Regions from separate parts of the Homo sapiens genome. Here regions 2, 3 and 4 are each linked to region 1. Evidence: promoter capture Hi-C in 16 types of primary human blood cells and fetal thymus (Javierre and others, 2016). All regions are on one chromosome and are shown on one strand. The core of a region is centred on a gene start or on the middle of the fragment in contact, and the rest is flanking DNA. Distances in the headings are between cores, read along the strand shown.

Region 1 (7,197 bases), core at 1,626-4,125:
CATACATACACATGCACACTCACCACACACACAACCATTCATACACGCCACACACTCACACACACATCCCCATACACACCCCACACATAATCATGCACACACGCCACACACACACACACCCATATACACACATGCACAGACTACACAATCATACACACATGCACACACACCACACACAACCATGCACACACATACCACACACACACTCACACACCCATATACACACATGCACATACTACACACACAATCATCTACACACATGCACACACACCCCACACACAAACATGCACACACGCCACACATACCCATATACACCCCACACACAACCACGTACACACATGCCCCACACACACCCCTATACACACATTCACATACTACACACAATCATACACACATGCACACACCACACATATATGCATACACTCCACATACACACAACCATACACATACACCACACACACTCACCTACACAACCACACACACATGCACACACCACACACTCTGAGCCAGGAATGGCTTGTTCCCGCTGGTGGACATCACCTGTCAGATGCTAAATGAGGAAAGGACCCCCTCACCTCTCTGGCACCTGTTAGCAAAGGTTCCTACAGACAACCTTGAGCTTTGGGGTCTGTGACCTGCCAGTCACCTCCCTGCCTCCCACCCCCAGTCAAGCCTAGGAGAGAGCTTTTGTGGCAACAACTACCACTTCTCACTGCAGAGGGCAGCTGGGACCATGGGTGGCTGGAGACCCACTCAAGTTCTGGCTGGGTCAAGAATCCCGGCTCCATCGCATCCAGCTCTGTGGTCTGGCTCCTGTGGGCCTCACTTTCCCCATCCGTAAGTTGGGACAGGGTGACCACAGGTAGCACCTCTCAGAGCTGTTAGGGCCAAATGAGACAACTTTCAGAGAGTGCCTGGTGCGAAGTAGCTGAGCCCCGAGGAAAGATAGGGTCTGGGGTAGCTGAATTCCTTCCCTAGCCGAACTCCAGGTTCAGCCAGCAATTTCCCACCCTGAGTCGACAAATGAGCACCATCGCCGGATGGGAACATGCGCTCACTGTCTGGTCCGGCCGCCACCCAGTGAAAGACCAACCTTTTCACCCCGTTCAGTGAAACCTCTTTAGCTCTGGCCGCCAAGGAATGCAGAACCAAACACACACATGCACACACATACACATACACACACATGCACACATACACCTACACACACATATACATACAACACACACACACACACACACACGAAGTCAGAGGCAGAGGGCAAGAAAGGAGAACACACAAACTGCCACTGGCTCTTTAAGGCTGAGACCCTGACTCTCAGAGTCCCCTGCACCCCACAACCCCTCCTGGCTTCCAGGGAAAGGTGGGGGCAACGTATGGAGGACCCAGCCCCACCTGCAGTCAGCAGAGCCTCAAAAAAGATGGTTGTGTGGCCCTGGACGGCCCCTGCCCTCTCTGGGCCTCAGTTTCCCATCTGTGGAATGAAGCACTGTTCTGGGCAGCTCTGAAGTCATTATTCTGCCTACCTCCCCCCGGACCCTAATTTTTTCAAGGACTCAGAATCTAACAGGCCATTAGGAGCTGGGGTCAGGCCCAACGCCTCTTGCTTCACCTTAGAGGTAACTCAGGTCCAGAGACTGGAAACAGCCTGCCCAGGTCACACAGAAAGTCAGGGGTGAGCCCAGCAGAGCCCTGGACAGAGAAGCCTGTCTTGGTATATCCCAGAGGAGGTCACTTCCCGGCTATGTGTCCTTGGGCTGGGCATGTCACCTCTCTGAGCCTCGGTTTCCATATCTGTACAATGGGGATAAGAGCCACCTCCCTGGACTGCTGTTAGGACAAGATGCGGCCATGCCTGGTGCACAGTGGGTGCCAATTAGCAGGTACCACGTGATTGCCCAGGACTCCCTGCCTGGGGACATGTCAGGCAGGGCTGGCCGTGTGTAAGTGTGGCAAATGCCCTAAGATGGTCCTGAGTCTGTGGAGGAGTGCAGATGCACCCCTGAGGCCTGGGGGCCCCAAGACTTGAAGCTAGGGGACCGGGGGCTGCCCCACCCCCACCCAGAGACTGGTGGCCTTTGGGGGAGGGGCGGCCCACGGAAACCTGGCTTCAATCAGTGGCCTTGTGGGGGAGGGGTGTTCTGGTTGGAGCACTGCACATGCCCCCGACCCCAGGGCCAGCCAAGGACAGGGACCTGGGCCCTGGAGGTCTGGATGGGGAGGGGGGTCCTGGGGGCACAATCCCCCTCCACACACACACACACACACAGAGCAGCATGGACACACAATATAAAGACACACAACACAGGCACACCGACTCACACAGCACTGAGACACCCAACAGCACTCTCATGGCCCATGCACACAATACACAGAGAACACACACGGACACACAACACATATACATACACAACCCCCTGACACACAGCCGATCCCTGCACACAGGACAATACCGTCCACATCACCCTCACACAGATCCTGGAAGCAACAGCCTGGCATCCACTTGCAGAAAAGTGGAAGCAACACACCCCCTACACCAAGGCCCCAGCCGCACACACACAACACTCCGGCCCACCCTGGCCCACCCCAGCACCGCACACGGGACTCAGATTCCACCACACTCATGCACACAACACCAAACACACACTCAAAGCCCACACACACTTAGAGAGGCCCCCCAGAGTGCTCCAACAGTCCCCAGTCCCTAAGCTCCAAGATAGCTCCAGGCTCTCAGGACAGAGGAGGGGACCCCAGGACTCACCAGTTCCTTGGCGTACAGGACTGGGTGCTCCCGCCGAATGGAGCGAGAGTGGGGGGCACCTGGGCTGGAAGAGAGAGTCCGTGCTGGTGCCCGGGGCTGCTCTGGGCTGGCGCCTGCCCGCCCTCCCTCCTCCCGTCCCTCCTCCCGTCCCTCCTCCTTCCTCCCTCCCCGGCTGGGCCGCAGGGCCAGCTTGATTTCATTAAGAGGGTTTGGGGTGGGGACAGGGGGAGGGGAGGGGCTACTCTCGGGCCACACGCAATCCCACCCTTGCTCACACTCTCGCTCTGGGGAAGACCAGATGCGGCACTTCCTCCCTGACCTCGGGTCCCCAGGGCAGGCTGAGACAGACAGACAAGGCTGTCCTGCAGCGCTCCCCCAGACAGTGAGCTGGGGTTCTGCCCACGCTGCTGCCCAATACCCTCCAAAGGGGACAAGCTCAGGGAGGTTCAGAGGCCTCTGGAAGTGGGAAGGAAAATTCCCCGTCCTTGTGTGGCTCAGGCTTCCAGGCTCAGGGTGCAGCGTGGGAGCTGGGATTCGTTTTAGAGACAGGCCTGATGGTGGGTCCGAGCCTGAGACAGGGAGCCCAACTCTGCCCTTCCCTCTCCAGACCTCAGTTTCCCATTTGTAGGGATGGGTGGGAAGCTTTCTGGGCTACCTCTGACTCTGATGTTCTGGGATCTGTGGCCTCACAATGCCCCCAAATGATAGTAGCTTGAATAGGAGTTGGAGCCCCATTTCACAGAGGGGGAAAGTGAGGCAGGGTGAGTTCTAATGGTTCAAGCAGGGTCCTGAGGTGAGTCAGTGGCAGGCCTTGGAACCGGGACGTCTGGCTGACCTGAGGAGTCCTGTGGATTAGCAGCCCCTTGCATTCATTCATTCATTCATTCATTCATGCATTCATTCGGCAAGTGCTCAATGAACACCTGCAGCAGGCCACGCACTGTGCTAAGCAAGTTCCAGAGGTGAATCAGGCACAGCCCAGCCTTGGGGAGCTCACAGACTACCAGGGAGAAGGACACCGAGGTAAATTACTTTTTTGCCAAACAGAAAGGGGTCAGGTCAAGGGCTCCGAGAACCCCAAGACAGAGAGATCAATCCCCCAAGGGAAAGAGGTAGGAAGCCATCCTGGAGGGCATGCCTGTGTATGAGCAGAAGCGGGCAAAGCAGGCCCTGGAAAGGCATTCCGCATGGAAGGACCAGCGTGGGTAAAGGTATGGTGGCTGGGAATGCCACCACGCACAAGCCACCGCAATTAGATTAGGCTGGAGCATGGACCAAAGAGAGGATCATGTAGTAAGGGTCAGAGATGTTGACAGGAGCCAGGCTAAAGTCTCGGAAGGTCGGAGGCAGTACGGAGCCAGTGAGGGTTTGGAACAGGGGAGTGCATGAAGGATGAGTGCGTGCTCTCTGGGTAGGAACCAAGCCTAGATTATCATTGTTCCCTGCAATGGTCCCAGCAGCCCTCGCTCACCCCCAGAAAACTGGGACAGTCATTTGCTTGGGAAATAAAATCAGAGACTTTCCCATCTTCTCTGGAAATCACCCCAAACCCTGCATCTTCGAGGGAACAGGGGACCATCCACCAATACTCGCACAGACACATTCATGCACACACATGTCCCAGGGGCAAGTGGCCACCCACAGACATGTTGTAGCAGCTGTGCCCGCTTTAAGGTGGCCAGGGGTGTTCCAGGCCTACCTGACCTGTCTTAGACCAGACATCGGGTGGTCAGGGGCAGCCAAACCTCCCCCAGGGCCCACCAGCAGGGGAAGAAGACCTTACCCAACATTCTGAGGGCTGCAGTCTGGGGACCTTGGGATGTCGAGGAGCAGGGACACAACCAACCCAAATAGAGCCTGCTCCCTGCACAGGTGGCCCCAGAGGCCCAGCCTGAGGGAAGCTCTCGGAGTCCCCTTCCCCTCGTTCTTTGCTTCTCCCTCCTGGGCAGAGCATCCCCCTGAAGGAGGGGTAGTAAGTGTTGGAGACATTGGCAGGAGCTGGGCTAAAGTATTGGAAGGTCACCTAGGAGGCAGTAGGGAGTCAATGAGGGTTTGGAGGGTTTGTTCTGGGATCTGTGGCCTCACAATGCCCCCAATGATAGTAGCTTGAATAGGCGTTGGAGCCCCATTTCACAGAGGGGGAAAGTGAGGCAGGTGAGTTCTAATGGTTCAAGCAGGGATCTGAGGTGAGTTAGTGGCAGGCCCTGGAACCAGGACATCTGGCTGACCTGAGGAGTCCCGTGGATTAGCAGCCCCTTACATTCATTCATTCATTCATTCATTCATTCATTCATCTAGCGAGAGGCAGACAGACCCACTTCAAATCCTGCCTCCACCATGTCCTGCCCCACATGGAGCCTCTGTTTCCTCCTCTGTAAAATGGAGATGGAGACTCCCTACTACTCGGAAGCTGGCAGGGGAAGGCAGAGGAGCTAGGGAGCATGCACGTGCTCAGCAATGTCAAAAGCACAGGCCAAGGCCAAGGGTATAGTTCCCTGTTGCTGCTGTAACAAATGACCACAGATTAGAGGCCAGAAGCCACTCACATTCATGCTCTTGCAGTTCTTTTGGTCAAGAGTCCCAAACGGGCCTCGTGAAGCTAAAAATCAAAGTGTCAACAGGGCTTGCGTTCATTCTGGAGTCTTGGGGGCGAATCTCTTTCTTTACCTTTTCAAGATTCTAGAAGCTGCTGGCATTCCTTGGCTCTTAGGCTTCTTCCTCCACCCTCCCGGCCAGTGGTAGCAGGCAGGGTCCTTTTCATACCACCATCTCTCTTCCGGTTCCCTTTCCCACGTTGAAGGCCCCTAGTGTTGACGTTGGCCCCACCCTGAGGATCCAGGATAATCTCCCTGAGAGCCTTAATTAACCATATCGGCAAATCCCTTTTGCCAAATAAGGTGTGACACACTCAGCTGGGTGCAGTGGCTCACACCTGTAACCCTAGCTACTCAGGAGGCTGAGTGGGAGGATCACTTGAGGCTAGGAGTTCAAGACCAGCCTGGGCAATCTAGTGAGACCCTGTCTCTAAAAATTTTTTTTAATTAGCTGGGTGTGGCACATCCCTATGGTCCCAGCTACTTGGGAGGCTGAAGTGGGAGTATTGCTTGAGACCAGCAGTTCAAGGCTACAGTGAGCTATGATCATGACACTGCACTCCAGCCTGGGTGACAGAGCACGACCTCAAATCTTAAAAAAAAAAAAAAGGTAACATATTTCCAAGTTCCAGGGATTAGGCTGTGGGCATCTTCGTGGGGAGGGGCATTATTCTGCCTGCCACCCCAAGTTGAATATTACTATTACTGTCTCCCTATGGGTCTGGAATCATCCACCCACAAATCACTGGGTTTTGCTCCCCCAGCACTGTGCCTCAAATACAGCAGGCCCTTTATGTGCTTGTGGGGAAATGAATGAATGCAGGAAGCCCACTTGGTGGACACAGAAACTGCAGTTCATGCTGGAGCAACCTGCCCAGAATCAGTTAGCATGTTGGGAGGTCAGAGCCCTTTTTTTCTGCACTGGCCCCCGTGTCAGCAAATCTCGAAATGGGACCACCCCCCTCCCAAGGGGCCCGTTCCCGAAAATAGGGCTCCTACCTCCCTCTGTCCTGTTGAAGGGCTTTCCCACCATGTCAACACACCACACATCACACGCTACACACACACACACACACACACACACACACACACACACACACACACACACACACACAGGCTGTCCTTAAACTGAGCATCCCTACCCACAATCTGAGGACAGAACAATGACAATGTCAGTCACTGATCAGAGGCAAAAAAGGAGCCCCAAGTCCCAGCCCCAGCTCAGGCAAAGACTGTGGGCAACGGAGCAAATCACTGCCTTTCCCTGGGCTGTGGCTAAATGTGGGGTTAGACTAGATGCTTGGCACAAGCCTGCCAGCCCTAAGACTCCAATTCTCTGGTACTCTAAATTTCATTCCTTCTATAAATATTTCTTTTTTTATGTCAATATATTTTAAACTTTTTTTTTTTTTGAGACAATGTCTCACTCTGCCACCCAGGCTGCAGTGCAGTGGCACAATCACAGGTCACTGTGGCCTCGACCTCCTGGGCTCAGGCGATCCTCCCACCTCAGCCTCCCAGGTAGCTGGGATTTACAGGCATGAGCCACTGCACCCAGCCAATGTATTTTTAAATTTCTAAAAAAAAATTTATGGACACATAATAGTTGTACATATGTATACAAATATTTCTTTTGACCTTAATTGCACACAGGCCAAGGTCAGGCCCTGGGAGGCAGTGATGGACAAACAGAGACACAGAGTTTACAGAGTAGCGGGGAAACTTGCAATGAGCAAGTAAACAAACAAATGAATATCTAACTGCAAAGTGGGCTAAGAGTTGGAAGCGGTAGTTCAGGGGCCAAAAGAGCACTTGTCTGGGAGGCTATTCTGGCCCCGAGCC
Region 2 (6,542 bases), core at 875-3,374, 290 kb after region 1:
AGCCTGCAGAATATTTCCCTGCTGTGCGGGCTTAAGTAGCTTCAAGGTTAAAAGCTGGTAGGCCTTCTAAACTTCTCAGGGCCCAATCAGCCCTGTGCCCCAAGGCAGGTGGAGTTCTGTGCTGGAAGACCAAGTTCTGAGGCCAGACACTGCGTCTGTCATGCTCATAGCTGCATTTGCTAGCTGCCAGCCTGGCACATGGTAGGTGTGCATTAAGCGTGTGTTGAGTTTACTCAAATTGAAATTAAGTCACAGCTGTACCATTTAACTGGCTGTGTGACTTCAGGTAAGTCACATCACCTCTCTGAACCACAGTTTCCTCCTCTGTAAGACGGGACTGATAACAGCAGCCCCTACCTCATGACAGTGTTGGGAGACTTGGATGAATGGATGCTTGTGAAGCACTTAGTGCCGGGGCCAGCTGGCTCACAGTAGGTGCTCCACAAATGTCAGTATATTACTTCTTTTGCATCAGGCAGCTTGTTAAATTTGTTACGTTTGGCATCTTGTTCAATTTCCCATCCATCCCCTCAAGCATAGGTTATTAGAGGTTGAAGCATCTTGCCCAAAGTTAACGGCCAGTAGGTGGCAGAGCTGAGTCCTGAAGCCAGAGCCCATCGCACTAACCACCGGCCTACCCAGCCTACAGTTGGTCGTGCCCTCTGCTGGGTCTTTTCTATTCCCAGCCCAGAAACTGGGTGTCTGGGGACGCTCCCCAGAGAAAGTTGCATCATTCACCAGCCGTGTGACTGTGGCCAAGTCTCGGTCACTTCTCCATACCTCAGTGTTTCCATTTGCAAAACGGGAACAATGATATTCCTTCCTCCTAGGGGTCATCGGGAAGGTCAAATATAAAAAGGGCTTGGTGGTGTCTGGCACCTTCTAAGCCTTCAGTGGATGGTGGCAATGGCGCTAAGGATGATGGAGATGATGGTGATGATGTTGTGCCTCAACCCTTCCTTCCCACAGGCTGCTGCAATGCGTGTGGTGGTGATTGGAGCAGGAGTCATCGGGCTGTCCACCGCCCTCTGCATCCATGAGCGCTACCACTCAGTCCTGCAGCCACTGGACATAAAGGTCTACGCGGACCGCTTCACCCCACTCACCACCACCGACGTGGCTGCCGGCCTCTGGCAGCCCTACCTTTCTGACCCCAACAACCCACAGGAGGCGTGAGTGAGGGTCACATAGGGTAGCCTGGGGTGCCCATGGACCTAAGTCTGCAGAGGGAGTCAGGGTTCCCATCACCAAGAGCAAGCCCCTTGTGGAAGCTCTGATCTAGCATAAAATAAAGAAAATGCCAGGCGTGGTGGTTCACGCCTTTAATCCTAGCACTTTGGGAGGTCGAGGTGGGAGGATCACTTGAGGCCAGGAGTTCCAGATCAGCCTGGGCAACGTGGTGAAACCCCATCTCTACCAAAAATACAAAAAATTAGCCGGGCATGGTGGCGCACACCTGTAATCCCAGCTACTCGGGAGGCTGAGGCAGGAAAACCATTTGAGCCTAGGAGGTGAAGGTGGCAGTGAGCTGAGATTCCGCCACTGCACTCGTGACAGAGTGAGACTCTGTTTCAAAAAGAAAAAAATAAAGAAAAGATTCATAAATATTAAGCCCCTTGCTCTGTGCCAGATACTAGGAGGCTTTGTCTCGTCTTCCCTAAACTGGGTGCCTGTCAATACCACATGATTGGTGAATCTGGAAAACTTCCTCTGTTTTAATTTATACATTTTTATTTATTTTTTGAGATTGTGTTTCACTCTTGTCGCCCAGACTGGAGTGCAATGGCGTGATCCTGGCTCACTGCATCCTCTGCCTCCCAGGTTCAAGCGATTCTCCTGCCTCAGCTTCCCAAGTAACTGGGATTACAGGCATCTGCCACCACGCCTGGCTAATTTTTGTATTTTTAGTAGAGATGGAGTTTCATGTTGGCCAGACTGGTCTCGAACTCCTGACCTCAAGTGATCTGCCCACCTTGACCTCCCAAAGTGCTGGGATTACAGGCATGAGCCATCATGCCTTGCCAAATTTTATCTTTTTAAATAGAGATAGGGTCTCACTATGTTGCCCGGGCTGGTCTTGAACTCCTGGGCTCAAGTGATCTGCCCTCCTTGGCCTCCCAAAGTGCTGGAATTACAGGCATGAGCCATCATGCCTTGCCAAATTTTATCTTTTTAAATAGAGATAGGGTCTCACTATGTTACCCGGGCTGGTCTTGAACTCCTGGGCTCAAGTGATCTGCCCTCCTTGGCCTCCCAAAGTGCTGGGATTACAGGTGTGAGCCCTTGCACCCAGCTGAATCTAGAAAACTTCTAAGTGGGTGAACATCTAAGTGGGTGGATGGATGCACAGATTTATCAAATAAATTGCAAAGGTCATTATGGTAGTTTAGAAACTGCCAGATGGTTCAGCAAATGGAACACCCAATGAATAGCAGCTCAAACAGATTAAAAAAAAATTTTTAAGAGGCATCCTGTCACCCAGGCTGAAGTGCAGTGACATGATCATAGCTCATTGCAGCCTTGACCTCCTGGGCTCAAGTGATCCTCCCACCTCAGCCTCCCAAGTAGCGAGGACACACATGCATGCTATCATGCCTGGATAATTTTCTTTATTTTTTGTAGAGCCAGGGTCTTCCTATGTTACCCAGGCTTGTCTCAAACTCCTGACCTCAAGTGACCCTCCTGCCTCAGCCTCCTGAAGAGCTGGGATTATAGGCATGAGCCACTGCAACCAGCCAGAATTTTAATTCACACAGCTGTAAAAAACCAATGATTCTGATCAGTGGGCAGTGATTCGGGGCCCAGGCTCCTTCCATCTAATGGCTCTGCCGTTTTTCCACGTGCTTTTGAGGTCACCTCAATGTCACCATTCACATGGGCTGGTGACTGCAGAAGGATCATGCAGGACCACACGTGCAGAGTCTTTAGAGTCCCTTGGCCAGAAACAAGTCACACAGTCACATTTAGCTGCGAGAGGGTCTAGGAAATGTAGGTGAGCTGTGTGCCCAGGGGGAGGAGGAAAAGTTGTAGGAGCGGCAAGTCGATGTCTGCCACCAGTGTTTACAAGGAGGGGTGCTTGCAGCCAGACTGAACAGTGTGGCTCATAATCCCCAAAGCCAGGTCAAGGACTTCACTGAAACTCATCAGCCATGTAATCCCATGCTGGAGGTGCACTCCATATGGTTATGATGGGGCATCCTTCATTCCCTCTCTTCTTTATTCTATTAATGGGGAAATATTGGAAAATTTAGGAGGGAGAAGACCCAAGGCATTTGGGGAGTTGCAGGAGTGAACGTGGTGGATTTCTGGGTTTTGGACACACCCCAAGCTCCTGATCATGCCACAGCCCCATGCCAGCTGACCTAAGGTTTTTTGCCCAGCTCAGGGCATTGGGTGATCGAACTCTTCATGACCCTTCCAGGGACTGGAGCCAACAGACCTTTGACTATCTCCTGAGCCATGTCCATTCTCCCAACGCTGAAAACCTGGGCCTGTTCCTAATCTCGGGCTACAACCTCTTCCATGAAGCCATTCCGGTGGGTGAACAGTTCTTGACCATGAGGGATGAGCACCCAGGGCTGGGGTAGTGAGGGTGGGTGCAGCAGAGCCTTAATCACAGATGAGGGCGGGGTGCTTTGAGTCTCGTAGGCAACAGACTCCTGGGTTCAAAACAGGTTTGGTTTAAATTCTATTTTTGCTTTGAAAATTATTTTTGTTTTACATTTTGCTGTTAAATTGGCAGAGGACAAAGAATCTTCTGATGCCCAGGGGAAACTAGCCTTTGATTAGCATGGCTAAAATACAAACATGTTCTGCAGTGACGGGCACTTGGTGCTGAAGCCAAAAGGTTTCAAGTGCCCCTGAAGGTCCCAAGGCTTTTTATCAAGAAGGAATAAAATACTCATCAAAGCAAAAACTGCCAAAGCATTTATTATGTGCCAGGTCCAGTCCTAACTAATTTACAGCTAGCGACTAATTTAATTCTCTTTATAACCGGGAGGTAAGGGCTGTCCTTATCCTCACTTAATAAATGAGAAAACGGAGGCTCCAAGAAATGGAGTAACTTGCCCAAGGCCACAGAGCTCGCCAGTGGCAGAGCTGGGATTTGAACCCAGGCCATCTGTGACTCCATGGTGTCCAGTGTGCTAACAGGAACAGCACAGCCCTGGGACGGTTTGCTCAGGCTCCTTGGAGAGGGTGGTCTGGCGCTGTGCCCAGAGCCCCGTGCCAGCTCTCAAGGTTCATTCAACCTTTGGCACTGTGCTAAGGGCTTTATCCACATTATCTGTTACCTTTCATGGGACCAAGAGTATTTTTTTTTTTTTGAGACAGGGTCTCACTGTATTGCCCAGGCTGGAGTGCATTGGCATGATCTCGGCTCACTGCAACCTCTGCTTCCTGGGTTCAAGCCATTCTCCTGTCTCAGCCTCCTGAGTAATTGGGATTACAGGTGCGCACTACCACGCCTGGCTAATTTTTGTATTTTTAAGAGATGGGGTTTCACTATGACGGCCGGGCTGGTCTCGAACTCCTGACCTCAAGTGATCTGCCTGCCTTGGCCTCCCAAAGTGCTGGGATTACAGGCGTGAACCACTGCACCCGGCCAAGAGTGATTATTAACTCCATGATACAGACAAGGAAACTGAGTCTCAGAGAATTCAAGTAGCAAGTGATGAGGCTGGGGTCTCTGACACTATGCTCTGTTGTCTGACACTATGCTCTGTTGCTTTCTCTCATCCCCGGGGACTCTCACTGTTTCTGCTTTCTCTCCCCTATTTCTGACTTTTCCCCTATAACTCACCCTCGGTCTTACTCTTACCCTTACCATAAATAGGGGTTAAGAACATGAACTCTGGAACTAAGCTGTATGGGTTAAAATCCCAACACCACCATTTATTAGCTGTGTAATCTTAGACAAGTTATTTAATCTTTCTAAGCCTCAATTGGTCCATCTGTAAACTGGGGAAAGAATAGCATCCACCCCAATGGCTTCTTGTGAAGATTAAATGGACCAGTATAAGAAAATGCTTGGAACAGTGCCTTATATGCACTTAGCATTACATAAGTCTCTGTCATTATCATTTTTTTTTTTTTTGAGATGAAGTCTCGCTCTGTGGCCCAGGCTGGAGTGCAGCGGCACAATTTCGGCTTACTGCAACCTCCAGCTCCCAGATTCAAGCAATTCTCCTGCCTCAATCTCCTGAGTATCTAGGATTACAGGCATGCACCACCATATCTTGCTAATTTTTGTATTATTATTTAGTATAAACAGGGTTTCACCATGTTGGCCAGACTGGTCTGGAGCTCCTGACCTCAGGTGATCCACCCATCTCAGCTTCCCAAAGTGCTGGGATTACAGGTGTGAGCCACCTCGCCTGGCCCATTATCATTATTATTGACTTCCATCCCACCCAGTGCCCCCTTTGTCCTTCCTCTTCAGGACCCTTCCTGGAAGGACACAGTTCTGGGATTTCGGAAGCTGACCCCCAGAGAGCTGGATATGTTCCCAGATTACGGGTGAGTTTATTGTCACAGGCAAAGGGGACTGGGGCCTGACGAGTTAGCAGACCTGTCCAGAAGGCAGCAGAGGGTAGAGGCACCAGATTTCCTGTCCTACCCAGGCCCTGGTACCCTGGTCTCCTGGTCCTTGGTCCAGCTCCTTCAGAGAGGCTACCCACTCAAACCTGGCCTTGGGCTGGGAAGGTAGGGGGTATGAAATCACAGATCTCAAGCCCAGAAGCTCCATATCACCATATTGTTTTGTAGATGAAGATACTGAGTTTCAGAGAGGCTAAGTGACTTCCTAAGGTCACACAGCCAAGTGGCCAAACTGGGATTCCAACCAGTCTGTATGACCCCACACCCCTCCTTTCTTTTCTCTACAGCCTGATGCCTCTCTGGTCTTCTCCTCACCCCACCCCACACCACACCTGAATCCCCTCTACGAATGCACATTCAATCTCCACTTGCATTTTCCAATGTCAGATATGGCCTTTTCTGATAGAAAAATTTTCCTTGCATTGAGCTCAAAACCACGTCCCCCCTTGAACTTCACGTAGTGGTCCTGGCACTACCCTTTGGGCCCACAGAACAACATTGCTCCCACCTCCATTTCACAGCCTTCAAATATAGCTCTGATTTTTACCTTTATTTCCACCTTTTGCTTACTGTGACTCTAGCTATGGCTGGTTCCACACAAGCCTAATTCTGGAGGGAAAGAACTATCTACAGTGGCTGACTGAAAGGTGAGATTTTAAGCTTCACTTTGAGGGAGGTACCTCCCAGAGACCAAGTTGTAGTGGAAGATGGTTCGTGGGCTTCCCTCAGCATGGACTAACCCCCAGGTTTGAAGAATACCCTTAGGCCTGGTGTGGGAGCTATCCTTGGTCCTGATCACCGCTGGGCACAGAGGCAATGGATCCTGAGCCTAGCTGAGCATCAGAACCACCTGGGCAGCTGTTTACACATGATGTCCATTAACAACCTCTTTCAAATCCCTAATGTTTGTGTAATAGTTTTAGATGTATTCTTTTAAGGTTTCC
Region 3 (7,250 bases), core at 2,483-4,982, 360 kb after region 1:
ATAACATTGCATGGGACCCAAGGAGCCCATATAGAGTGAAGGAGATGTAGAAGCGGATGTATGGCCTGGAATCCGCTGGTCCTATCATATATTGTGCTATCCTGAAGCTGCTGGCCTAAGAGAGCAATGGAACAGGACTCTGAAGGTGTCACTAAGGTGTCAGCTTGGAGACGATGCCCTGTGACCATGGGGCACTGTCCTCCAGGACACAATACCCACTTAAGTCTATTGCCATTATGATGCTTCATTCCCAGGAGAAAAGATTCATGGGTCTGGAAATTAAGGGGTTGAAGTAAGAGTAGGCTTCACTGTCATCAGTCTCAGTGACCCAGATCAGGGGATTTGTACTTCACATCCTGCAACTTCTGGGCTCGGTGGGTCTAGAGGTCCTGGCTCCCAGGGAGGGAAAGCTTCCACAGGAGACACAGCAAGAGTCTCAGTAGAATGTCTTTTTTGAGATGGAGTCTTGCTCTGTCGCCGAGGCTGGATAGCAGTGGCGCGCTCTCAGCTCACTGCAAACTCCGCCTCCTGGGTTCAAGGGATTCTCCTGCCTCAGCCTCCCAAGTAGCTGGGATTACAGGTGTGTGTCACCACACCCAGCTAATTTTTGTAATTTTAGTAGAGACGGGATTTCACTGTGTCGGCCAGGATGGTCTCGAACTCCTGTCCTCACATGATCCACCTGCCTTGGCCTCCCAAAGTGCTGGGATTACAGACGTGAGCCACCGTGCCCGGACCCATTAGACTTTAAGCAACAGCTGCTACCCAGTAACTTTGGGCTCCTTTGTGTCAAGAAATGAACAGGCAAGAAAAAGAGTCACCGTGGGCTCCTTGGGTCCCATGTCAGAGAAATTGATCCTAACCACCATTAAGACTTAATAAGCCCCATCTATCATAGGGCCACCCAGGTGATATACCAGACATCTCTTGGTAATCTCCTGCTCAATTTTGGTGTTAAATGGACAAGCGCAGCAGCTATGGCCTAAAAGAGGCATGGCGACCAGGGACTCGAATCCCTTAGGCATGAGATCTCAGTCACCCACCCAGGTAAACCGTCTAGATCAGCGAGAGTGCTCGCTGAAGCTGAGAGGAATTTAGAATGGGAAGCAGAGGTGGGAGACATTTGGCCTTTTGGCCAAGGCAACTTCTGCAAGGAACTCAACTGTGAGCTCCATTGGCATCCATTGCAGCCGTGAGACTTTTGCAGAAAAGAGATTATCCAGAATCCTGGAGGAACTGTTCTTAGGCGGGGTGAGCTGATTACAATTATGGGCTGCATAACACATTTGAGTCAACAACAGACCACATATATGATGGTGGTCCCATAAGATTATAATACTGTGGTAATTAATTAACTTATTTATTTTGCAATCTTTTATTGAAGAGTACTGCTTCGTGCAGAGCAGGGCTAACTCATAGGCAGTGCACCCAGAGTTGGCCTATTTTCATTATTCTTTAATAGCGAGGGGGTCTAGCTATGTTGCCCAGGCTGATCTCAGACTCCTGGGCTCAAGGGATCCTCCTGCCTCAGCCTCCCAAAGTGCTGAGATTACAGGTGTAAGGTACCATGCCTGGCCTTTTTTTTTTTTTAATTTAATACTGTGTTTCTACTGTAGGTTTTCTATGTCTAAATGTGTTTAGAGATGCAAATACCATTGTGTTCGAATTGTCTGCAGTATTTAGCACAGCTACATGCTGTACGGGTGTGTAGCCCTGGAGCAATAGGCTATACCGTATAGCCTAGCTGTGTAGGAGGTTGTCCCATCTAGCTTTGTGTGAGGACAGTTTATGATGTTTGCACGGTGACAAAATCACCTATTGATGCATTTTTGGAACACATCCCCATCATTAAGTGACGCATGACTATATTTGAAGCAAGTGGGTCCACCCTGGACTGTGGAGGATGCTGTGATGTGCTACTTGGTCTGCCCTTCAGGACTGAGGCTTTTATTCCCTCCAAAATGAGCAGGAGCATTGCCTGCCAGGAGCTGAGTCCCTTGCAGAAGTTGCCTTGGCCAAAAGTAGCTGCCTTGCCTAAGATCATGCTCCATCCTTGAGGGCAGCCCACATCCGATGCCTGGTTGGTGTGAGGGTAAAAAGGCCTAGCCCCCCCGCCCCAATCTGAAACACCTCTGAAGGGCCACCTCTGCTTCTGAAACCCTGTAAGCTGACCAGAGGCCTCTGTGGCAATGGTATGGCAACTCAGCTTCCCCCTTCGCTGGTCCTAATTTTCTCACTTTCTTACAGGTGTTAATCCTAGTAACCACCTGCACAGTAATCTCCATCTCAAAGTCTATTCCCCAGGATCCCATCCTAGAACAGGGACCATGGTGCTCTTGCTCAATGCTGCGTCCTGGCACCTAGCATTTCTAGGTACTCAAGAAATATTGGTGGAATAAATGAATACACTACAAGGGATCGCCCTGGTCCTCTTGCAAAATTTTCCTAATGATTCCTTACCTCCAAGCTGTTCTACCTGCCATAGCCAGATCCATACTTCTAGGTACCTCCGCTGCTCAAGAACTCTCAGTGGCTCCTCATCACCAATAGAATCCCTTTGGCCTGGCATTTTAGGCCTTTAACAAGCTTGCCCTGGCCTACCTGTCCAACCTCAGCTTTTAATTCTTTTTTTTTTTTTTTTTTTTGAGTCAGAGTCTCACTCTGTCATTCAGGCTGGAGTGCAGCAGTACGATCTTGGCTCACTGCAACCTCTGCCTCCCAGGTTCAAGCGATTCTCCTGCCTTAGCCTCCCAAGTATCTGGGACTACAGGTGCCCGCCACCAAGCCCGGAAAATTTTTGTATTTTTAGTAGAGATGGGGTTTCACCATGTTGGTCAGGCTGGTCTCAAACTCCTGAGCTCAAGTGATCTATCCGTCTTGGCCTCCCAAAGTGCTGAGATTACAGGCATGAGCCACCGCGCCTGGCCAGCTTTCTCTTACAGATCTCATCCCTCCAAGCTGACCAACCAGACAATTAGCCTTCCTCAGCCTCAGCTACGGCTTCCTCTTTTCATGTGGTTCACTTCCTAGAAAATGTCCTAGATCTTCTCCAAGTCTCCTTCTGGGTCTTTCCAAATCCTTTGCCTTCTTAATAGCAAGGCAGTAAAATGCAATGGGTATAGAGCCCAGGCACTGGGGTTAGAAGGTCCAGTTCCTATTCCAGCTCCTCCACCACTTCCTGGCTGTGTTGCCTAGAGCAAGTTACTTTACCTCTCTGTGCCTCAGTTTCTTTATCTGTAAAATGGGGTTAATAATAGAATTTACCTTCTAGGGAAAATGAGAGATTAAAGGAGATCATCTGGGTAAACCGTTTAGAACAGCACCTGCCACATAGTTAACACTAAATATTGGCTATTATCATTTTTTAGGGTGGAGTCCAACACGCATTTTCTATAATGGGCCACATAGTGAATAGTTCAGGCTTTGCAGGCCATATATCTGCTGAAACTACTCAGTTCTGTTGCTGTGGCATGAAAACGACCATAGATAATACATAAATGGAGGGTGCGGTGTGTTCCAATAAAACTTTATTTACAAAACCAGTCAGCAGGTCGAATTCTGCCCGTATGCCATAGTGTGCCAATCTCTGCTTCAGGGCCCATCACAAATAGGAAGTCCTCCTCGATGCCCCAGGAGACAGTGGCTTCTTCCTACAGCTCTGAATATTCTCAGTACCTTAAACTACAACAGCAACAGCAAATTGCTGCCTGAGTGACATGTGGTTAGCATCATACTCTGCCTTGCGTTTAGGTAGGAAGAGCGTGGGAAGCAGCATTCATGGTAGCTAAAAGCATGGATATTGTAGTTACCCACCATGTGATTCAGACAGATGATTTCACTCTCTGAGGCTCAGTTTCCCCAACTGTAAAACGCAGATTGCAATAATACAATAACACACACCTCTTGGGCTGCTGCAATGCGTCCAAGTGGAACAGTCAATCAATGCTAGATGCATTATCATTTCGCTTTTACAACCTTCCAGCCATTGTGTTGTTTTGCTGCTGTTGTTGATCATAACAATACTGATAATGATGCTATTTTCTTGCTACACCATAGCTCCTTGATCCTGGAAGCCCTGGTATAGCTATCTCTGCACCCCTGCTGCCCCATCTCAGCCCCTAACTCCTGATCCAGACCATGAACAGACACGTGGATGGGCAGCCTGGCTGCATAGCCAGCACTGGGTATTTACTTACGACTGGGGAACTCCTCCGATCCCGAAGCCCACCAGGCCCCGGAGCACCAGGATCCAGCTATACACGGGCGCAAATGCACTAAGGATGCCATAGTACAGAGTCCACAGCACGCTGATCTTCAGCCCCTGAAGAGAAGGAAGACACGGAATCACAAGGGCTTTTCAGCACCTCCAGGTAGCGTTTGCACCTCACTGAGAGCCGCCGATAATGGGGTCACATTAAAGGGAGCCTACACAACCAAGGGGGTACTGGGTTCCTCTGTATGGGGAGTGCCAACCCACAGGGGTTGGGTGAGAAAATCATGGGGCATTCTTGGTTGTCCCAATGATTGGCATTGAATGCCAATCTGGGCCAGATATGTCAGATATTCCACAATACAGGAGACAAAATAGATTGTCCTGCATCTCATACCATCTCAAATGTTCTGCCCGACCATCATGCAGCTGAAACTCTGTTTCTGATGATCTGCACCTAGACTTTTTGCTCTGTTTCACACATTCAAGACTTTTTTTTTTTTTTTTTTGGCATAGTGTGAATATACACTTAATTTTTCAGGAACGCAACTTTCAGGTAAGTCAAAAGAAAATTTACTTTGTTTTACCTGGAACTTTACAAAATTGTTCTTTTCAGAAAACCATGCTGTCAATGACAACGCTGTGTGCAGCATTTGAGTCACTGATGGGAAGCTTCAGTGTCAGCTTTCACTCAGGGTTTATCTATGAATACACTGATCTAAACCTTATTTTAAAAGGTCAAATGTAAAGAAAAACCATCAACAATATTCAGTTAAGTCCAAACGTATTTACAATCAGGGGCAGATATTGACCCCTTCCTCTTGTCATCTAGACAGAGTTGTAGGTAAACATTTGCATATTAAAAATAAATTTTATTTTATTAATGACGTTTTAAATTTCTCCCTCCTAGTTAGCACTTTAGAACTGATTTCTTTCTTTTTCTCATTAACAAGTTTATTTTGGCATCATTATTCTAACATCTATTGTACCAGGATAAAACTATATCAAAGTATAACTGTACTGAGTGATATTTTTACTATGAAGAATAAAACATAATATAAAGGCAGTTTCCTGTGCGGGCAAACTCATTTTGAAGTTATTTTAATGAATGACATACTCTTACATCCTCCTAATTTGCAAATGAAACAAGTAACTTATTTCTTTCTTATTTATTTATTTTGAGACAGGGTCTCATTCTGTTGCCCGGGCTAGAGTGCAGTGGTGCAATCTCGGCTCACTGCAGCCTCAACCTCCCGGGCTCAAGTGATCATCCCACCTCAGTCTCCCATGTAACTGGAAGCACAGATGTGTGCCACCATGCCTGGCTAATTTTTGTATATTTTATAGACATGGGGTTTCACCATGTTGCCCAGGCTATTCTCAAACTCCTGGGATCAAGTGATCCACCCACCTCAGCCTCCCAAAGTGCTGAGATTACAGGTGTGAGCCAACACGCCTGGCTGATTTCTTTTTTAAAGTACGTGAATGACTAGGTTATTTTATCTTTGGAAATTTTTTCTGGATAGTTAAGAAGGCGTTATTCAGTGTTCACTTTTTTAAAGAAATGGAGTGTTGCTATGTTGCCCACGCTGATCTTGAACTCCTGAGTTCAAGGGATCCTCCTACCTCAGTCTCCTGAGTAGCTGGGATTACAGAGGCACATTTTCCACATTTTTAAAGTAAAGAGGGCATGTGTTCAATAGGGTCAAGAACCACAGAGGGACACAATGCTTCAAGACAAACATGGGGCCGAGCACGGTGGCTCACATCTGTAATCCCAGCATTTTGGGAGGCTGAGGCCGGGGATCACTTGAGGCCAGGAGCTCAAGACTAGCCTGGCCAACATGGTGAAGCCCTGTCTCTACTGAAAATGCAAAAATTAGCCAGGTGGAGTGGCGGGTGCCTGTAGTCCCAGCTACTTGGGAGTCTGAGGCAGGAGAATTGCTTGAACCTGGGAGGTGGAGGTTGCAGTGAGCCAAGAACTTGCCACTGCACTCCAGCCTGAGGGACAGAGTGAGACTCTATCTCAAAACAAAACAAAACAAAACAAAAAAGACAAACATGGCACATATTCCTGGAGTGTTAATTACCCTTAGAGATTGGAAAAAAAATTAAGAGTAAACAAATACTATTTTTATATCACAATCAATGCCAAATATGAGAGGGTAAAATGCAAATTTCACGTGCATTTTCAACCTGCTCTGTGAGGTCTGGTCAGGCCTCTTTCTGCAATACCCTTCCCAGAGCTCCAAGGGTGAGTTCACCTTCCTGTCCCCCAGGGAACACTTCAGGGGGCAAGTATGAAACATACTGATTTTTTGCTTTAAGATATTAAACTGAATTAAAGGAGATGAGTGAGGAAATTTGGAAGCCTACCAAATGATTTCGAGTCTTTTAGAAAATGACTTTATGTGGCAGAGAGAATATTTTAAATAATTTTGCATCACCTCACAAGAAAGTTATTTTTTTCATTTCAGTCTTCATTTTTATGATTATGTCAAAGAGTCCGTGAGGTGCCAGTCTGTCTTTAACACCTATTTATCTATTTGTATTTATTTATTTTTTTTTTGAAATAGAGTCTCGCTCAGTCACCCAGGCTGGAGTGCAGTGGCACGATCTCAGCTCACTGCAACCTCCGCCTCCTGGGTTCAAGCGATTCTCCTGCCTCAGCCTCTGAGTAGCTGGTATTACAGGTTTGCACCACCATGGCCAGCTAATTTTTGTACTTTTGGTAGAGTAAGTGTTTTGCCATGTTGACCAGGGTTTCGCCATGTTGCCCAGGCTGGTCTCGAACTCCTGGACTCAAACAATCCACCCACCTCAGCCTCCTAAAGTGCTAGGATTACAGGCATGAGCCACCACACCCAGCCAACACATTTTAAAAAATAGCTACTCTCCTCTCTATTTAACACAGAAGGCACTGGGACAACCACAACCACTAAGAATTTAATAACATTGCTTTGTTTGTGTTGCATTTATTTTTGCAGTCACTTCCTACTTAAGGCAATTGTTATTGATCTTCCAATTAAGACTGTATAGT
Region 4 (6,731 bases), core at 997-3,496, 340 kb after region 1:
CCTGTTAATTAGCACCTTTGCTAAATGGTGAATAGAAAAATGAGAACTGGTTAAAATAGAACATAAAGCCTTAAGCCAGGCCAATTTTGTTCACTATTAATGCTGTGTACATGAATTGGTGCAAAGAGACTTGAAAGATGACTGCAGCTCCAATTCATTGTGGAGTTTAAGGTGATTACACTCTCCAAATACCACCCCCAACCCACACCTTCTGTCTCCACTCCCTTCCATGGGTATTATTTAAGAAAAAGTCCAACAGGATCAGAACTGGAACTTAAAAGGATGCCCATGTTGACCAAATCAGTGGTTCCCAAAATACGTGCCACATGCCACCCCTGTGGTACCCAAGGGGCAATGTGGGCTACAGGGAAGACACTGACATAGTATAAATACACACACACACACACACACACACACACACATGTATTTTTGAGACAGAGTCTCACTCTGTTGCCCAGGCTGGAGTGCAGGGGAGCAATGTCGGCTCACTGCAGCTTCTGTCTCCCGGGTTCAAGTGGTTCTCATCCCCCAGCCTCCCAAGTAGCTGGGACTACAGGTGCCCACCACCATGCCTGGCTAATTTTTGTATTTTAGTAGAGATAGGATTATGCCATGTTGGCCAGGCTGATCTCGAACTCCTGACCTCAGGTGATCCACCTGCCTCAGCCTCCCACAGTGCTGGGATTACAGGCATGAGACACCACACCAGCCCATATAGCAGAAATATTTAATCGTATTGTGAAAGAAAAATTACTTTTTAAGTTTACTTTCAATCCTTTCAATCCTTTTAAATTATATCCCAGTCTCACTTATGTGCTAATGAGTCCTTAACACCTCCCCTCTCCCATCTCTTTTTGTTTTGAGACAGGGTCTCACTCTGTTGCCCAGGCTGGAGTACAGTGGCATGATCACAGCTCATTGCAGCCTCAACCTCCTGGGCTCAAGTGATCCTCCCACCTCAGCCTCCTGAGTAGCTGGGACCACAGGTGCATGCCTCCACACCCAGCTAATTTAAACATTTTTTGTAGAGACAGGGTTTTACCGTGTTGCCCAGCCTGGTCTCAAACTGCTGGCCTCGAGAGATATTCCCACCTTGACCTTACCAAAGTGTTGGGATTATGGGCATGAGCCACCATGCCCAGCCAGCCTTCTTATCTCTTAAATACAGAGGCTCACTGCCTCTGCAAACCTCCGTCTAGTTACTTTTGCTGATATTTCTCTTTAAGAGTGCCTTCTATCTGTGACTTGCAATTAAGGTGTTTTCTTTTAAAGTAGAGTTATAAGCCTGGTTCAGCGGCTTACAACTGTAATCCCAGAATTTGGGGAGGCTGAGGAGGGAGGATTGCTTGAGTTCAGGAGTTCAAGGCTGCAGTAAGCTAGGAGAGCGCCACTGCACTCCAGCCTGCACGGTGATTAAAAGCAGTCAAGTTAAAGAAAAAGATGAAGGAAATGATAGTACGTACAGATGATAACCTGGATATGACGGAAATCAGGAGGATGATGTTCGAACTACTGAAATTTGCAAACGCTGCCTGAAATCAAAGTGCTATCTGTCCATTGCATTAAAACAAAACCCAAAACAGGGCACAGGGAGTGGAAAGGGGTCAAAGTGGTCAACAAACAGCTCTTACCATATAAACCACAGCAGCAAAGTTGTCCATCTAAAATGGGGTGTGAAAAGGTCCCTCATTTTGCCTCGGTCTTCCTGTTTCAAAACAAGGACATAGTGTTTATTCTCTCCCCTACAGATGCACGGGAGATGGGCTGGTGGCCTGAGACTAGTGCACACCAGGCTGGGAGGAAGGTTTCTAGTAAGTAGGACACTGGAGCTCTGAGAACCCAGGTCTCAAATCTACAGGACGCAGCCTCCCAGCCCCTCCAGCCAGAACCCAGCCATGTCCAGGGGCATGATCCCCACAGGATGGATCTCACGCCCTCCAACCTGGAAACCTGGACTTGGGAAGCAGATCCCTCCTTCCTGGCCCCTCAGACCTCAGCACAGATCCAAGGACACAGCAAGCAGAAAACCAGTCCAAAGCATGTCCAGCCATTTCACACACACACATGTGCCTTCCCCAGTTCTAGGTCTAGGTGGCAACAGTTAATGTGCTGAGAAACTAATTCACCAAAGGCCAATTTACCAAAAGATTGATTAGCTAAATGACCGATTGGCCAATTTTACATAATTCACAAATTTATCAAACTTTGCTTTACGATGTTCTTTAAAAAATATATGCTATGGCCAGGTGTGGTGGTTCGTGCCTGTAATCCCAGCACTTTGGGAGGCCGGGGCAGGTTGATCACTTGAAGCCAGGAGTTCGAGACCAGCCTGGCTTTCCCTCATCCATGGAAGGGATCTCTCCCCAAAGGCAACCAAATAGGCTTCTGCACCTCTTGAGGAATCCATCCTGCTCTGCCCCTGTAGATTTGGGGCAGGTCCCCTGGACTCTATGTTGTCAGACCAAACACCTCCTTCCAACTTGGTGAAATGCCATTCAGTTCTTCTTGCATAATATAAAAAGAATCAGAAATATAACTTTATTTTAAAAGGTAATTTCTTTATAGGATCTGATGTCTGCTTAAGGTATTTGTCATGTTTCTTCAATCGGCTTGGATGGTTCTTGAGGGCAGGGACTGCAGCCTTAAATCCGAATCTTTTCTCCCCATGTGTGCAATGCTGGTGCCTACATATACTAGGTGCTCATTAAGTTTCACCGTGGTGGACTCCCTGATGGTGTTACCAGCGGAGTGAGGCACCATTCATTAAGAACACCTACACAGGGTGCGGTTTGATCCCCTAGATCTAAGCACACTCCTTCCTGATATGGTTTTATTGCACAGCTTTTGCCAATCAGTCTCATTCGCTAGTCAGACTTCATCTGTGCTGAAAGGCGAAACCAAAGCAGGAGCAGTTACAGGACCCATTAGCAGAGGTTACTTTTCTCTAATCACTGGTGAAATTCTCCAGGAAGCATTTTTAGAACTTGGAAGTGAAAATACAGATTGGAGTTGCCAAATTACCCTTGCAGGTCCTGTCTACTGGGCCCTCATCTGCTCCATGTGCACGCACACACCCCACCTTGGGTACACATACCCACATGTGTCCTCGCATGCATGCCCTACTCCATATGCACACACTCCCCTGCATGCACCCCGATACGCACATTGCAGAGTCTATTGGTCCAGGCACTGACCTGTCTGGAGATGATGAGTTTCCCCAGCGGCATGGGAGCTCCGTTTTCAGTTGCTATCCTCTTTAAGGTGGCGATTGCCTTTTCCTGGTTCCCTGACAGCACATCATACCTTGCACTTTCAGGCAGCCACTGGGATGGGGGAGACAGGAAACCCAGGCGTGGCTGGTTAGGGTGGAACAGAGCACTCGCTTCTAGCCACACAGTGTTGCATGTGGGGTCTTTAAGAGTGGGGGCTCTGGAGCCAGAGAGCTGACTTCAAATCCTGGCCCCACCATTTATTATGTTGGTTGTGTGACCCTGTACAATTACTTGACTTCTCTGTGCTTTCATTTCCTTCTCCATAAAATGTGAATGATAAGAGATCCTACCTCTTAGGGCTCTTAAGAGGATTAAACAGGATAATACAGGCAAGGTGCCTAGTGCAGTGCCTGGTATGGGTTAATGCAGTTATTATTATTGTCACGGTTGCTATTACTATTATTTGGGGCTGTTTTCAGAGTTCCAGGTGAGGGCTGAATTAAATTAAGATCACTGTCAGAAATCTCACCCCCATTGTTCAAGGAATTACACCTCACCTGTATTCAGCATCATCTTGCAAACTCAGTTCAAGAGAAAGAAAGAAATCAGAAAGATTTTTAGGCCAATGGAAGTCCCAACCCCAAATGACTACATACATACATTTCTGTAAAAATGGAGCAACAGCTGTTTGAAACAGCAGGTATACTGGAGAAAAGACTAGGAGTTAGAAGATCTGATTTAGAGTTCTTTTGTCTACTTGCTGTAGGCCCTTTAACAAGTCAATTAGCCCCTCTGGGCTTCAGTTTTCTCATCAATAAAAAGAGGATATAGCAGAGAGTGCAAATGCCCACCAACATTCTGTTTCCTTTTTCATAGCGCAAAGTTGTCCTTAGATGTGGCTGCCCAGACAGGGACTACATTTCCCAGCTCCCTTTGCATCTAGGTGGGACCAAGTGACTTGTGTTCACCAATGGCATATGAGCAGACTATTCCTGGCCAAGGTATTTAAGAAGTGACTGTGCAGTCTCCACTTGCCTTTTGCAAGTCTGTTGTCTGTATGTAGAAGACTTCAAAGCCCTAGAGGATGGCAGAGCCACCAGCTGGACAAAAACTGGGCCCAGAATTCCACTTGCCAACCAGAAAAGTCATTCTGAACTATTGTGTTAGTGAGAGAGAAGCTCCTATCGTGCTGTTACTGAACTTGTGGGCTTTATTTGTTTCAGCAGCTGGTATCACCCTGACTAATATAGGGGTTCATTATAGTCCTGTGATTATTGGGAGGAATAAATATGATAATGCATGGAGCACAGAGCCTGCCACACAGTTAAGCTTAATAATTATTAATACTTATTATCATTACCAGGAATTTTTGTGGTATTTACCGTACATGAGAACTACCCATCTCTAGGCTTATTTTAGTGCCTACTGGCTGTAAAGTGTTTCAAGCATGTGCCCATGAAATGATGAGTATGTGGCAAGATCTCAGTAGAGGGTGTGGTTTATGCACAGATGAGATGAAGAGATCATTTAAACTCCTGGAGCCAGCCATGCCTGAAGTCTGACTTAATCCTCTGAAATGTATTTATCCCTCTCTTTTACTCAAGCCAGTTTGAATTGGGTTTCTGTCATTTGAAACTTAAGAGTCTCAACTAGTGCAATACAATCACTTTAAGTGTAGATTTTGCAATGATGGGGCCAATGTATCCTCCCATCCCCAGTTATCTCCCCAGAAAACATCCCAGAAGTGTCTGTCTGGAGGAAATCTAACACTCCATACTGGGGCTACCCCAGGCCATAGCTCCCTTGTCTCATTTCCTGATTTAAAAAAAATAATCTTGAAAGGTGGCTTTGGTATCCTTCCCTATCCCCTCCCCACCAAAATAGAGTGGACAGTAAGATGTCAGACAGCAAAAGGTGAAATCTCTTAAAGGATACCTACGAAACACAGCACGGCAAAGAGGAGGAGCGGGACAGCTGAGAGGATGAGCAGCCAACGCCAGCCCAGGCTGGGCATCACGAACACAGCCAGGACGACCTCGAACACTGTCCCGATGGCCCAGAATACCTGGCACAGGAGAATCAGGGTCAGTGGTGGGGGTAGCATGGTCCATACAGAGAGGAATTATGGGGGCATTGTGGACAAGGGTATCTCTGTGGGTAAGGGGTCATCGGAGTCAGTAAGGTTAGAATAGCCACACTTTCCCTGTGGTCTATATGGTTGGGCCAGGGCTGCCATGTTGCCCAGCTCACAAGGGTACCATTATACACTGTATAATATTTGCATGGCACCTGCTGGAGCTGAGCAATGTGGCAGCTTTGGTTAAGGAGATCAATGTGACCAATATTACGTGATGTCAAATTGGTAGTGAACACACTGGTTCTCTCTCTGTCTCTCTGTCTTTTTGTCTTGCTCTGTCACCCAGGCTGGAGTACAGTGTCCCGATCATGGCTCACTGTAGCCTTAACCTCCCAGGCTCAAGCAATCCTCCCACCTCAGCCTCCTGAGTGGCTGGAACTACAGGCACATGCCACCATGCCTGGCTAATTTCTTTTGTATTTTTAGTAGAGACAGGGTTTCACTATGTTTCCCAGGCCTCCTGGGCTCCTCGGCCTCCCAAAGCGCTGGGATTACAGGCATGAGCCACCAGACCCAGCCTCAAATTTTTTATTGTGGTAAAATACACATAACAAAATTTACCATCTTAATCATTTTTAAGTGTACAGTTCAGTGGTATTAAATACATTCACAATATTGCACAAACATCACCACTCCCCTTCTCCAGAACTCAATTTGCAAACGTGAAAGTCTGTGCCCATTTTTTTTTTTCTTTTTTTGAGACAGAGTCTTGCTCTGTCGCCCAGGCTGGAGTATAGTGGCGCAATCTTGGCTCACTGCAACCTCTGCCTTGCAGGTTCAAGCGATTCTCCTGCCTCAGCCTCCCGAGTAGCTGGGATTACAGGCGCCCCCCTCAACCACACCCAGCTAATTTTTGTATTTTTAGTAGAGACGGGGTTTCACCATGTTGGCCAGGGTGGTCTTGAACTCCTGACCTCATGGGATCCACCCCCCTCGGCCTCCCAAAGTGCTGGGATTACAGGCATGAGCCACCACGCCCGGCAAGAAATTCTGTACCATTAAGCAATAACTCTCCATTCCCCTCCATCCCCAGCCCCTTGGCAACCACTATTCTACTTTTCGTCTCTATGAATTTGATTACTCTAGGTACCTCATATAAGTGGAATCATACAGTATTTGTCTTTTTGTGACTGGCTTATTTCCCTGAGCATAATGTCCTCAAGATTCATCTGCATTGTACCATATGTCAGAATGTCCTTCCTTTTTAAGGCTGAATAATATTCCAATGAATGTATAGACCACAGCTTGTTTGTCCACGCATGTGTTGACAGACACTCGGGTTGCTTCCATGTCTTAGCTAGTGTGAATAACACGGCTATAAACGTGGTTGTACAAAATGGACACATTGATTTTGCTCACTGACATCCATCTCCCTTGCCCAA

What was found. Contacts are between HindIII fragments. The CHiCAGO score rates a contact against its expected background, and 5 or more counts as called.
Region 2: a fragment that was not itself captured here is called in contact with the fragment with the promoter of TMEM119 in region 1 in 1 of 17 cell types (neutrophils); the score reaches 5.7 in neutrophils.
Region 3: a fragment that was not itself captured here is called in contact with the fragment with the promoter of TMEM119 in region 1 in 1 of 17 cell types (erythroblasts); the score reaches 5.1 in erythroblasts.
Region 4: a contact is called between a fragment that was not itself captured here and the fragment with the promoter of TMEM119 in region 1, in 1 of 17 cell types (neutrophils). The highest score is 6.9, in neutrophils.

Annotation. Positions count from the first base shown.
Region 1 is chr12:108,595,209-108,602,405 of GRCh38, forward strand. TMEM119 (transmembrane protein 119) reads right to left here and starts at 2,876. Exons shown (of 2, transcript NM_181724.3): 1 at 2,762-2,876. The HindIII fragment of the contact is 3,678 bases long and covers 1-3,401 here.
Region 2 is chr12:108,884,029-108,890,570 of GRCh38, forward strand. It overlaps DAO (D-amino acid oxidase), which reads left to right. Exons shown (of 11, transcript NM_001917.5): 2 at 970-1,172; 3 at 3,422-3,536; 4 at 5,441-5,517; 5 at 6,180-6,245. The coding sequence starts at 979. Among named protein-coding and RNA genes, the nearest start is that of DAO, 7.2 kb to the left of the region's middle. RefSeq lists a silencer at 6,272-6,472. The HindIII fragment of the contact is 8,263 bases long and covers 1-6,256 here.
Region 3 is chr12:108,956,727-108,963,976 of GRCh38, forward strand. It overlaps SVOP (SV2 related protein), which reads right to left. Exons shown (of 16, transcript NM_018711.5): 6 at 4,197-4,321. Among named protein-coding and RNA genes, the nearest start is that of SVOP, 61 kb to the right of the region's middle. The HindIII fragment of the contact is 2,296 bases long and covers 2,585-4,880 here.
Region 4 is chr12:108,935,633-108,942,363 of GRCh38, forward strand. SVOP (SV2 related protein) reads right to left here. Exons shown (of 16, transcript NM_018711.5): 8 at 5,152-5,277; 9 at 3,195-3,323; 10 at 1,632-1,705. Among named protein-coding and RNA genes, the nearest start is that of DAO, 59 kb to the left of the region's middle. The HindIII fragment of the contact is 4,586 bases long and covers 1-4,539 here.